2 separate regions of the Homo sapiens genome follow, and region 2 is linked to region 1. Evidence: promoter capture Hi-C in 16 types of primary human blood cells and fetal thymus (Javierre and others, 2016). All regions are on one chromosome and are shown on one strand. Each heading gives the region's core, a stretch centred on a gene start or on the middle of the fragment in contact. The rest is flanking DNA. Distances are from core to core; before and after follow the strand shown.

Evidence for each region. The method cuts DNA at HindIII sites, captures the fragments that hold promoters and counts their contacts. A CHiCAGO score of 5 or more calls a contact.
Region 2: a contact is called between a fragment that was not itself captured here and the fragment with the promoter of LIMS1 in region 1, in 7 of 17 cell types (neutrophils, naive B cells, total B cells and 4 more). The highest score is 7.3, in neutrophils.

Annotation. Positions count from the first base shown.
Region 1 is chr2:108,531,225-108,537,743 of GRCh38, reverse strand. LIMS1 (LIM zinc finger domain containing 1) reads right to left here and starts at 3,274. Exons shown (of 10, transcript NM_001193483.3): 1 at 3,150-3,274. The coding sequence starts at 3,181. GCC2-AS1 (GCC2 antisense RNA 1) reads left to right here and starts at 3,525. Exons shown (of 3, transcript NR_135290.1): 1 at 3,525-3,915. RefSeq lists silencers at 3,029-3,628, 4,117-4,411. The HindIII fragment of the contact is 7,547 bases long and covers 2,019-6,519 here.
Region 2 is chr2:108,787,615-108,794,071 of GRCh38, reverse strand. It overlaps CCDC138 (coiled-coil domain containing 138), which reads right to left. Exons shown (of 15, transcript NM_144978.3): 2 at 5,983-6,040; 3 at 5,106-5,220; 4 at 2,270-2,397. It also overlaps a transcript of RANBP2 not described here. Among named protein-coding and RNA genes, the nearest start is that of CCDC138, 4.1 kb to the right of the region's middle. RefSeq lists a silencer at 3,212-3,386. The HindIII fragment of the contact is 772 bases long and covers 1,438-2,209 here.

The sequences.
Region 1 (6,519 bases), core at 2,025-4,524:
AGGGTGGGAATGATCAAATAAAATCAAGACAGCACAATCCTGATGGACAGTTTTCTCTAAGCCTGCAAAAACCGGAACCACCAGAACTGAAATGATCTTTTGTACCACCAAACTTTCCTTAGCTTTCTTAAAAATCAACAGTTCGATTTTCTCACCATACAAACAGGCACAGAGCACTGAAAAGTGTGAATACACTTAGGCCCATGGCATTGTCCCTCTTCATAATGGCACTGGCCATTTTCTTATCAGGGAAAATCCTGAAAGGCAGAAAGTTGCTTCTTCCATGGTGGTCCAAGTCTTAGTTATTACATCCTACTAAAACTAGCCAAAACTACAAGGCACACACTACCACAAGCATTCAAGAGCAATTTTAAGAGAAACCTTGTATTTGTTCCTTTTTAAATATCCCCAATACCTGCATATCCTTCATCATTTAGGATTATGTCTTTAACAGTGGTTCTTAAAGTATGGCCTTGAACTCCTGAGGGTCTCCAAGACCTTTCTAAGGGATCCGAGAGATCAAAACTATTTTCATCATACTAAGATATTCCTAAGAAGTCACTGTAGCATTGTGGACTGTGTTGACACACAGATAGTGCAAAAACAACAGTCGGTACAACTGCTGGCCGCTTAGCACTAAAGAGGGCCGTGGTACTGTCCCTGAATTCTTTACCTTTATGTACTCACAGGAAAATAATGTCAATTTCACTTTTTAAGTGAAATGGTACAGTCATGCTGGAAAAAAACTGTCAGTTTCTCAAAAAACTAAACATACGATTTCTGTACAACCTGCCAATTGCACACTCTTGGACATTTATCCCAGAAAAGGAAAAGTTACATTCACATAAAACTTAGACAGGCTGAGCACAGTGGCTCTAAAATTCCAGCACTTTGGGAGGCTGAGGTGGGTGGACTGCTGGAACCCAGGAGTTTGGGACCCCCAGACTAGCCTGGACAACATGGCGAAACCCTGTTTCTACCAAAAAAATACAAAAATTATCCAGGCATGGTGGCGTGTGTCTGTAGTCCCAGCTACTTGGGGGACTGAGGTGGAAGGATTGCTTCAGCCTGGGAGGTCTAGGGTGCAGTAAGTCATGATCATGCTACTGCATTCCACTCCAGTCTGGGTGACTAAGCAAGACACTGTCTCAAAAACAACAACAAACACCTGTCTATTTGTTCGTAGTAGCTTTCTTAATAGCCCAAAACTAACAGCCTGAATGTCCTTCAAACATGTGAACAGTTAAACTGCTGTACATCCATACCATGGAGCACTACTGAGCAACAAAAAGGAACAAACTATGACATGCACAACAAATAGCGTATGATTCCACTTACATGAGATATGAGGTACCAGCAGTAGTCAAAGTCATAGACAGAAATTAAAATGATGGCTGCCAGGGACTGGCGGGAGGAGGGGAATGGAGAATTATTGTTTAATAGGTACAGAGTTTCAGTTTTGTAAGATAAAGATTTCTGGACATGTATGATGGTTACGGATGCACAATAATTTGAATGAACTTATTACTCTCCCTCCAAAAAGTAAATTACTAATGGTAAATTCAGGATGGGAAGGGGATAGGATGCGGAGAGACACTGGACCAGAGAGGTTTGAAGGTCTTAAAAGGAAACTATTATCTCCTTTATTACACTACATATCCGTTATTCTTAATATCTCACAAATACTTTAAATTTTATATCAACTTACTAGTCAATACTTTTTTTTAAGGAAAAAAGTCCATGATGAAGGAGTACAAATTATTGTTATCAAATCTTGAGCTTTGACTCTTTTTTGTTACTTGTGACCAAATGGCAGGCGTGCACTTCTGTAATAGAGCGATGAGCTGAATTAACTTGCTTGTGTCATGAAATACCATTTTTACGGGAAAGAACAACTGACAAACTAGGGTTATTTAAACCTGTATTGCCGGACACTTCCTTGAAACTGAACAAAGTGAGTCTGTCACTTTGAGGAAAACAATTGACAATATTTTGCTCCCAATGATAAAAAGCAAGCTTTCAACCGAAAATGAGAATTTTGGAAAACTTGTAAACACCACCTTGTATCTGACGGCTTTTAACATAAAGACTTTCCTAATGAAATCAATAGCGATGGTAACGAATGTTATTCGGCGCTATTAATGAAATGCGTCAGCTTGAGATCTGCCAAACTCAGTGAGCCAATATCTTCCAAACGACAAATATATGGTGTTACAATGGGTAACAGCTGCATTCAAACTGCAAGACAGACCAAGGAATTTTAACGTAACTGTGTGCAAAGGCCACTGACAGGAGCTTTAGCTGCATTCAAACTGCAAGACAGACCAAGGAATTTTAACGAAACTGTGTGAAAAGTCCGCTGACAGTAGCTTCAGATTCCACGTCCAAACCAGCCTTTGAGAAACTTCCACTTACGTAGTTTTGGTGTAGTAATAAAGAATACCCATAATTATCTGAAACAGCTATTAAGACAGTACTCACTTTTCCAACTACACATCTGTGTAAGATCAGATTTTCTTCATATAAAAACATACCGCAACAGACTGAACTGCAAAGGAGATGGGAGAACGTAGTTGTCTCTACTAAGTCAGACAACTCAAGAGATTCGCAAACTGTAAAGGACGCCAGTCGTCCCACGAACTCTTTTGTTTTAGCAAAACCCTATGTTGCATAAAAATGTGGTATGTACGTTAACATACCACGGATTTATTCAATGAGTTAATAGTAACTTCAGTGTCTCGGTTTTCCTTTCTAGTACAGTCTATGGAGATAGCCACCATTCCAGGTCCTCTAGTCCCAAGAGGGGTCCTGAGACCAAGACGTCTGCGACCCGCTGATCCCTACTGCTAGAAGATAAATGATTAGCTCGGCAAATACTGATTTGTCTTATGGAACTCTCGGAGCAGCGGGGCGGCGTCAGCGCCTGTGCCACCGCGGACACCCGGGAGTGAACAGCAGCCGTCTCCTCCGCGGGCCCGGACGCAGCCACGCCGCCACCCGAGCGCTGGGGGTCGGGGCTCCGGCCGACCGGGGGAGGCCGCGGGGAAAGCCCGGCCGCCCGCCCGCGCCAGGCCCGGCCCGGCCCGGCCCGAAGGCCCGCCGGGAGCTGCGGGGCGGACGTGGCGGGGGCCGCGCGGTGCGGCCCGTACCTGTGGGTCATCCCGGCCGCCACGCCCAGCATCTCTCCGCTTTCGGCCGCCGCCGTCTCTCAGCCCCTCGTCTCCCGGCGCCGCTCCAGCCGCGTCCTAGTCCCTCGCCGCCGCGGCCGGCTACTGGCGGGCCCGGAGCAGGAAGGGGAGGAAGGCCAGGGGCCGGCCGCGCGGGGGCGCGGGAGGGGGGGGAAGGCGAGGCGGGCCGCGCGGGAAGGCGGGGGAGGGGCGGGAGCGGCTGGGCAAGGAGGGGCGGGGACTGGCGGGGCGGGCGCCGAAGGGCGCGGACTGGAGAGGTAGGCGCGGGGGGGCGGGGCGTTGCGGGGCGGGGCGCGCATCAGACCCCGCCCCAACCCGTGGCTCGGGCCCGCCCCCATTTCAGCACCCCAGGCTAGTCTGGGAGGCTGGCGCAAACGCAGCGGGTGGCTGGGGTAGGGGCTCATTGGGAGCCCACGGAGCGCGGCGGCGGCTCGGGGGCCGAGTTCCCTACAACAAGGATGGCGGTGACGGGCGCAGGGAGCGGGGCCCGGCTCTCCTTGCCTCGAGGCTCCTCTGATTCCACTCGCGTGGCTGCGCGGCCCTGGCAGCGGCCTTCGTCCCGGGGGTGGGAGCTACACAGGGTTCCGCCCCGTCCTGGCGAGGACGCCTGAGGGGGCTCTGTGGTAAGGCTCTGTCGGGCAGGCCGGGCTTCCGGGAGGACCTGGTCTGGATCGGTCACCGCTGGGTGCCTGAGCTCCGCATGGAGCCTGCAGCCTTTGTTTAACTTGTGAGTTAAGAAAAGTTAACCTTTCTTGGAGAGTTTCCAGTCTTGCCTCTGCATCCTGTTCTTCCTTGCTAGCTCTCATTTTCTTCACCCATTCCGTCTATCAAAACCTGAAATTTTGGGGCCGGCGCAGTGGCTCACGCCTGTAATCCCAGCACTTTGGGAGGCTGAGGCAGGCGGATCACCTGAGGTCAGGAGTTCGAGACCAGCCTGACCAACATGGAGAAACCCCGTCTCTACTAAAAATACAAAATTAGCCGGGCGTGGTGGTGGCACATGCCTGTAATCCCAGCTACTCGAGAGGCTGAGGCAGGAGAATCGCTTGAACTTGGGAGGCGGAGCTTGTGGTGAGCTGGGAGATCGCGCCACTGCACTCCAGCCTAGGTAACAGGCTCCGTCCCAAAAAAAAAAAAAAAAAAAAGTGAAATCTCCAAAGGATTTAATAGATTTAATAGATAAGACAAGTTATTCATCCTGGGCATAAATGATCTCTCTCAGGATACCTGATTCTGTAACTATAGCTACTCTCTAGTAATAGAATGAAAACTTTGGTCTCCTGCCAGTCGAGGCATGTCGGAGGAAAACACTGGATCTATTTGATGTCCTCACATGAAAGTAAATTCCAAACAAAGCAAATAGTTAAATGTTCAAAAAACAAAAAAAAAAAAAAAAAAAAAGAGAGAGGTTATGAAAATACCAGAAGAAAACAAGGGAAAAAAACAAAAGTAAGGTTGGAGTGGTGAGAGACTTTTCAAAGAGCATATAAACCATAAAATTAAAAATTGATAAATGTAGGCCGGGCACGGTGACTCACGCGTGTAATCCCAGCACTTGGAGAGGCTGAGGTGAGTGGATCACCTGAGGTCAGGAGTTTGAGACCAGCCTGACCAACATGGTGAAACCCCGTCTCTAATAAAAATACAAAAATTTCACCGGTTGTGGTGGCGGGGTTCCTGTAATCCCAGCTACTTGGGAGGCTGAGGCAGGAGAATTACTTGAACCTGGGAGACAGAGGTTGCAGTGAGCCGAGATCGCGCCATTGCAGTCCAGCCTGGGCGACAGAGCAAGACTCTGTCTCTAAATAAATAAATAAAAATTGATAAATGTAACTACATAGAAATCTAAATTTTCTGCATAGCAAATAAATATAACAAACCCCAACCAAGAAAAATATTTGTAAAATGTATGACAAAAAGTTCTAAATTATTAAAAAAGTTCTAATTATTAAAAAAATCAGTACAAAAATGTTCAACTCAGAGAAAAACAGGTTTCTACAGAAAAATACAAATGATTTCTTAAAGTATCATAAAACAAAAATAAAATACAATTTTTCACAAATGCAAAGATGAAAAGTTTGACTATATATTGTTTTGATGAGGATATAGGGAAACCCTTTTTTCCTCCCCTAGAGGAGGCCTCTCTATGTTACCCACACTGGTCTTGAACTCTTGGACTTCAACTATCCTTTTGAATAGCAGGGTTTACGAGTGCACGTCAGCATGCCTGGCTAATTTATTGTTGATAGGAGTATAAATCCATACACGCTTTGTAAAGAACAAGTGGGCAATAGCTATCAATGTAAAATTCAGCTCTTCTTTGACCCAAGATATTCATATTTTGGAATTTATCTTACAAATGTATTCTTATATGTACACCAAAAGAATGTACAAATTTGGGCATGGTGGCTCACACCTGTAATCCCAGCACTTTTGGAGGTCGAAGCAGGAGGATCCCTTGAGGTTAGGAGTCCAAGACCAGCCTGGGAAGAAAAGGGAGACCCCCCTGCCTTGTCTCTACAAAAAAAAAAAATTAAAAATTAGCTGGGCATGGTGGCGTGCACCTGTAGTTCCAGCCAGCTATAATTGCACCACTGCACTGCAGCCTGGGTGACAGAGTGAGACCCCGATTCAAAAAAAAAAAAAAAAGAAAAAAGAAAGAACAAATTTTAAAGGTCCCTAGGCAACTATCTGTACACTAAATGACATCACTGAAATTTACTTTAAAATGTAGGGGTGGGGAATGTGGGTTGATAACTTGAAACTACCTCATAAATACATTACATTCTTTATATTAGCTTGTCTACTTTAGTGTATATGTGAACATTTCTGTAATAAAAAAGTTTTTTAAAATTGAAAATGGCCGCGCGGTGGCTCAGGCCTGTAATTCCAGCACTCTGGGAGGCCAAGGCAGACAGATCATGAGGTCAGGAGATTGAGACCGTCCTGGCTAACACGGTGAAACCCCGTCTCTACTAAAAAAAAAAAAAAAAAAATGCTGGGCATGATGGTGTGCGCCTGTAGTCCCAGCTACTTGGGAGGCTGAGGCAGGAGAATGGCGTGAATCCAGGAGGCGGAACTTGCAATGAGCCTGTAGCAGGATGAGCCGCAGACAAAACTCCTCAGACTCCGAGTTGAAGGAAGGGGTTTATCTGGCCGGGGGCATCAGCAAGTCTCCTGTCTCAAGGGCCAAGCACCCCGAGTGAGCAATTCCTGTCCTTTTTAAGGGCTCACAACTCTAAGGGGGTGTACGTGAGAGGGTCGTGATCGATTGAGCAAGCAGGGGGTACGTGAGTGGAGGCTGCATGCACCAGTAATTAGACCGGAACAA
Region 2 (6,457 bases), core at 574-3,073, 260 kb before region 1:
CTATAACCTCTTCTTTTAAACAGGTTCACAAATCTTCACTGTATATCCTATTTTGCAAACACTGTATACAGCATCCTCCTATAGGTGGAAATTTGAGCTGATTTGGCTATACAGATGCTACAGTCTCGTACGTGGCTTCTGGTGTACAAGTTTAAGAGTTTCCTGAGGGTGGCAGGGCGCGGTGGCTCACGCCTATAATCCCAGCACTTTGGGAGGCCGAGGCGGGCGGATCATGAGGTCAGGAGATTGAGACCATCCTGGCTAACACGGTGAAATCCCGTCTCTACTAAAAATACAAAAAAAAAAAATTAGCCGGGCGTGATGGCGGGTGCCTGTAGTCCCAGCTACTCGGGAGGCTGAGGCAGGAGAGTGGCGTGAATCCGGGAGGCGGAGCTTACAGTGAGCCCAGATCGCGCTACTGCACTCCAGCCTGGGCGACAGAGCGAGACTCCATCTCAAAAAAAAAACAAAACAAAACAAAAAAAAGTTTCCTGAGGGTATATAAGTAGTAGCAAAATTGCTAGATCATAGGGTATATGTGCAGATTCAACTTTACTAGTGATGCCAAATTGTTTTCCAAAGTGGCTGTATCAATTTACTCTCCCAACAGCAGTAGGTGAGTTCCTCTTGCTTGATATCCTTGCCAGCACTATACTGTCAGAATTTATTTTCTTTTAACAATTAGAGTATAAAATGCTCTCGGTCAGTGTTTTTTTGTTGTTGTTTTGTTTTGTTTTTTGAGACGGAGTCTCACTCTGTCGCCCAGGCTGGAGTGCAGTGGCGCGACCTCGGCTCACTGTAAGCTCCGCCTCCCGAGCAGCTGGGACTACAGGGGCCAGCCACCAAGCCCGGCTAATTTTTTTGTTATTTTTTTTTTTAGTAGAGACAGGGTTTCACCGTGTTAGCCAGGATGGTCTGGATCTCCTGACCTCGTGATCCGCCCACCTCTGCCTCCCAAAGTGCTGGGATTACAGGCACGAGCCACCGTGCCCGGCCTTGCTTTTTTTTTTGAGACAGAGTCTCTCTGTCGCCCAGACTGGAGTGCAGTGGCACAGTCTCAGCTCACTGCAACCTCCGCTTCCCGGGTTCAAGTGATTCTCCTGCCTCAGCCTCCCGAGTAACTGGGACTACAGGCACGTGCTACCATGCCTGGCTAATTTTTTGTATTTTTAGTAGAGACAGGGTTTCACCGTGTTAGCCAGGATGGTCTCGATCTCCTGACCTCGTGATCCACCCGCCTCGGCCTCCCAAAGTGCTGGGATTACAGGCGTGAGCCACCGCGCCTGGCCGACGCTCAGTGGTTTTAACTTGCACTAGACTCATGGAAGCCCCAGCTTTAAAAAAGGAGGGGGGTGTGTCTTCCATTATACTCCATTTTGAACAGACAACGGAGAAGTAAAAATAAAACATAGTATGAATTTTTTAAAATGAAAAGCTTCACTTCACTCAGTTCAGCAAATGCCCTAAAAGTGAAAGGCACATTCACAGAGCTCTACTTGCCTGTCTAGGTTCCCGACTCACCAATCCCTGGCCCGAGCATTTCTTAATTTTGTCTACTTTCAAATATGAGGTTGGTGCAAAAGTCATTGTGGCTTTTGCCATTACTTTTAATGGAATACAAGCAACATTTTCTTTATACCTTATCCCATGTTTTCCACTGGGAAAATCGACCATATAGCAGGAAACTCAAGTCCCGACAGAATTATTTTTCATCTTCCTCAAATGATGAGAATAATGGGACAAAGGAAAACAAAGGAGAGGGAAAAGAGGAAAATGAATGTTGTTGTGTGTAGACCATAATACCAGCACCAGTATTATCAACAGGGCAACTCAAAGTCTTGTAGCCCAGAGGGTGAAGGGTGCCATTTCTGGTTGTCTCATTCCTTGAAATCCCGCCACAACTATGAAATGCAGCCAGATACACAGAAAACTGCTGGCAGTTCAGTGCCCAGAAATCCATACTTCAAATAATCTGGAGTATTTTCTCAAAATATTGTAGTCAAATACTACCACAATCATCTACTCAGTTATTAACTTATTTTGATAAATTTTGAGGGTACAGGAATATTACTGAAAAATAATGAAGTTTAATTTTCTCTGCTCCTTTAGTTTAATAATAAGCACAGTAACTATCTCCTAGCTTACAGAAGTTCAGAACACAGAAATATGCAAACTCTTGGGGGCCAGTGTTATTACTAGGAGGGAAGCTTCATTTACTCTACTTGACAAAGTTACTACTGAATTGATTGTTCTAAAATATTTATTTTACCTTTTTCTATTTCTTTAAAAGACTGCTTGGTTATTTTCGAGGTACTAACTCTATAATCATTTTCAATTAACTCTTCTTCTGTTTCCTGTTTCTTCAAATCATGGAAAGAATCCAGTTCATCATCTAGGCTTTAAAAAAATAATTGTATCACAGCAATCTAGAAGTTTACTATAGCACTTTAAAAAGATAAAACTGCTTTTCAAATATTAACAGCATAACTGAGAAAAAATGTAAAAACATTTTTTAAACTGCAAAATGTAAACATGTAAAAAGAAAAAACGTAAAAACTAACAGTCACTGATCATTGATAACCCACTACAAGCATCTTTTTCTACACATTAAATAGACTTAATTTAAAATGACATATACCTACCTGTGGTATATTCTACAGCTAAGGAACACTTTATTTTGACTCCCAATAATCTGTTATCTATAAGGTAGTTTTAGCTAAAATAATATACATAAGTAAACTAAACCTAAGTAAGTCAAATAACTGATGGGTGACATAACGAGTAGAAAGTGGAGCAGAACTAGAATTCCAGGTGTTGTCTCCAAAAAGACAATCTGAGTTGAAATTTTTGGAATAGTATTGTTCAAAAGCAATATAACACAAGTCATATAGGTAATTTAAAATTTTCTAGTAGCACGTTAAAAAAATAAATTTTAAAAATATTAGTTAATATAATATATCTAAAAGTTTATCATTTCAACATGTAATCAATGTTAAAAATTATTAGGATAGAACAGGCATGGTGGCTCACGCCTGTGATCTCAGCACTTTGGGAGGCCGAAGTGGGAGTATCTCTTGAGCCCAGGAGTTCAAGATCAGCCTGGACAACACAGTGAGACTCTGTCTCTACAAAAAGAAAAATAAATAAAATAAATTAGCTGGGAGTAGTGGTGCACGTCTGTAGTCCCAGCTACTCAGGAGCCTGAGGTGAGAGGATCGTTTGAGCCCAGGAGTTGGAGGCTACAGTGAGTTACAATTATGCTACTGCACTCACAGCCTGGGCAACAGGCTCGCCCCCTGCAAACCCACATACACCCACACAAAATTAAGATATTTTACATTATTTTATCCATGCCTATTTATTTATTTTTTGAGACGGAGTCTCACTCTGTCACCCAGGTTGCAGTGCAGTGGCGCGATCTCGGCTCACTGCAACCTCTGCCTCCGGGTCCAAGCAATTCTCCTGTCTCAGCCTCCCGAGTAGCTGGGACTACAGGCACCCGCCACCATGCCCGGCTAATTTTTGTTATCTATGCTAAGTCTTAGAAAGCCAGTGTGTATATGACACTTACAGCATATCTCAATTCAGACCAGCCCCATTTCAAGTACTCAATAGGTACATGTGGCCTGTTGCTACTGTGCTGGACAGCATAGTTTCAGACCAGATCACAACTAGGGGTCCAATGTTATGAAAACCTTCATAGTCCAAAACCTTTAGATTATAGTTTAGAGTTATACCCAGGTCATTATATAAAAAATGATAAAACTCAGTTAAAAAGAAAATAATTTCCATAAATTTATAATTATTACCTTAAAAGCAATTTTCACTTTCCTTACCCTACATTCAACGTAGCTCATGTCTAAATCCTAAATCTAGATCAACTAGATTTTGTGAGTGCAACATGAAATAGTAATAATAATGATAATAGGTAACATTTGAGTACTTATTATTTACCCAGAACTGTTCAAAGTGTGTTACACAGATTAACTTATTTAAGTAGAGAAAGAGAAAACTGTATTAAAAAAAGTCAAGCTCCCAAATACTAATTATGTAACATACAGATACTTTAGGCATAATTATTTTTTCTCTCCACAATTATTTCAACATTTCATGTTATATATGGATACATCTTTATTTCAAAATGCTTACTCCTTCTTGATACCCATAGCATTTCTTTCTGCCACATATTTTTAGCATTAAATAATATCCAACTTAGATCTTTATTTTACCTTAGCTTCCACTGTTTTTATATTTTTTCCCCATAGTAAATAGTATCTTCCTTACAGAACGGCAACTTCTTTTAACCCAGCACTGTATCCTACATACCCTGTAGTTACCATCTCCCCAGACCACCTTCTTCAATCTCTCTCAATCACCTAAATACAATGCATACAATACCAGACACACCAGAGATAGTAAAATGCTGCTGCCTAACAAAACCTGTATGGCAGTTTTTTTTGTAGTTCGTTTTTTCTTTCTTCAGGACAGTTTTGCTCATCACCCAGGCTGGAGTGCAATGGCACAATCTTAGCTCACTGCAACCTCCACCTCCCGGGTTCAAGTGATTCTCCTGCCTCTGCCTCTCAAGTCGCTGAGATTCCAGACGCACACCACCAAGCCTGGCTAATTTTTCTATTTTTTAGTAGAAACGGGATTTCACCATGTTGGCCAGGATGGTCTCAAACTCCTGACCTCAGGTGATCCACCCGCCTCGGCCTCCCAAAGTGCTGGGATTACAGGCGTGAGCCACCGCACCTGGCCCATAGTTCCTTTTCTAAAAAAAAATTTTTAAAGAAAGGGAGCAGAGTCTTCATTTGGGTCCTGAATGAATAACCATAAAAATATATTTTTTCATCTTTTACATTATATAAATAACTTTCCATTATGCCACTAAATATAATGCTAGGTCTATGCTTTTATTACAGAGATTCTCAGTAAAAATTAATAAGTGACTCGCTTCAACTATTTAGCAGGCTCCAGACTGCCTTATACTTGTCCTCATACTTGTCCTCAGGAAAGAGCAAAAATATAACCTGCCCTTTTCTCTTTCTCAGTTTTTTGAGATACTGAGGGGGTAGCAACAGTAAAGTTTCAGGGTACTTTACCAATTCACATTTACGTGCTTGAATAAGCTGCCCAATGGTGTTCTACAATGCTTGCTTTCATCAGAATATTTTAACGATGAACCAACTTTATCTCCAGAGTAGATATCCAAATCACCTGTCAACGACAAAGAAACCATGAAAGATTACCACAACAATATATCACAAAATATCTGGCACTGGCCATAAGTCTAAATAATACTATTTTTAAAATCTTCTCTCTCAAATTTTTTTTTCTTTTTTTTTCTTTGAGACGGAGTCTCGCTCTGTCACCCAGGCTGGAGTGCAGTGGCGCAATCTCGGCTCACTGCAAGCTCCGTCTCCCGGGTTCACCCCATTCTCCTGCCTCAGCCTCCTGAGTAGCCGGGACTACAGGAGCCCGCCACCACACCCGGCTAATTTTTTGTATTTTTTTTAGTAGAGACGGGGTTTCACCGTGTTAGCTAGGATGGTCTCCATCTCCTGACCTCGTGATCCGCCCGCCTCGCCTCCCAAAGTGCTGGGATTACAGGCGTGAGCCACCGCGCGCAGCCTATTTTTTTCTTTTTTGAGACTGAGTTTCGCTCTTGTTGCCCAGGCTGGAGTGTAGTGGCGCCATCTCGGCTCACTGCAACCTCTGCCTCCCGGGTTCAACCGATTCTCCTGCCTCAGCCTTCCCAGCAGTTGGGATTACAGGCGCCCGCCACCATGCTCGGCTAATTTTTTGTATCTTTAGTAGAGACGGGATTTCACTATGTTGGCCTGAGTGGTCTCGAACTCCTGACCTCAGGTGATTCGCCTGCCTCGGCCTCCCAAAGTGCTGGGATTACAGGCGTGAGCCACCGCGCCCAGCCTCAAATTAAATTTTTGAAACCCCCAAATATACAAAATACCGGCTTACCTGGGGAGGTTAGAGTTCTTCTCTTATACTTAGACTGATAAAAATTTGAAAAATCATACTAAAAAAAAAAAGAAAAGATTTAATTTGTATACTAAAAATCAATTTACTGTCTCAAAATATTTCCCCACAAATTATGTATTAATTACAAAGGTTAGAGTGGAGAAATCTTGTAGACACCATCTTAACCAAGTGATCAAAACTAATATCATCAATAATGTGACAAACCAACGTCATGTTCCTCCCCACAGCAGGCCACACATCACTCATCTCATGCTCCTGCCAAAAATGCATAATCAATCTAACGAAGAAGCATCTATAAGATAAACCCAAACGGAGAAACAATCCAATAAATAATTCTTACACTTCTCAAAAAAAAAACAACCTTACAGAAAACAAAGGCTGTGAACCTGTTCCAGATTAAAGGCAACAAAAAGGACAATCAAATACAATCAATGCTCGTTCTTGGGTCGGATCT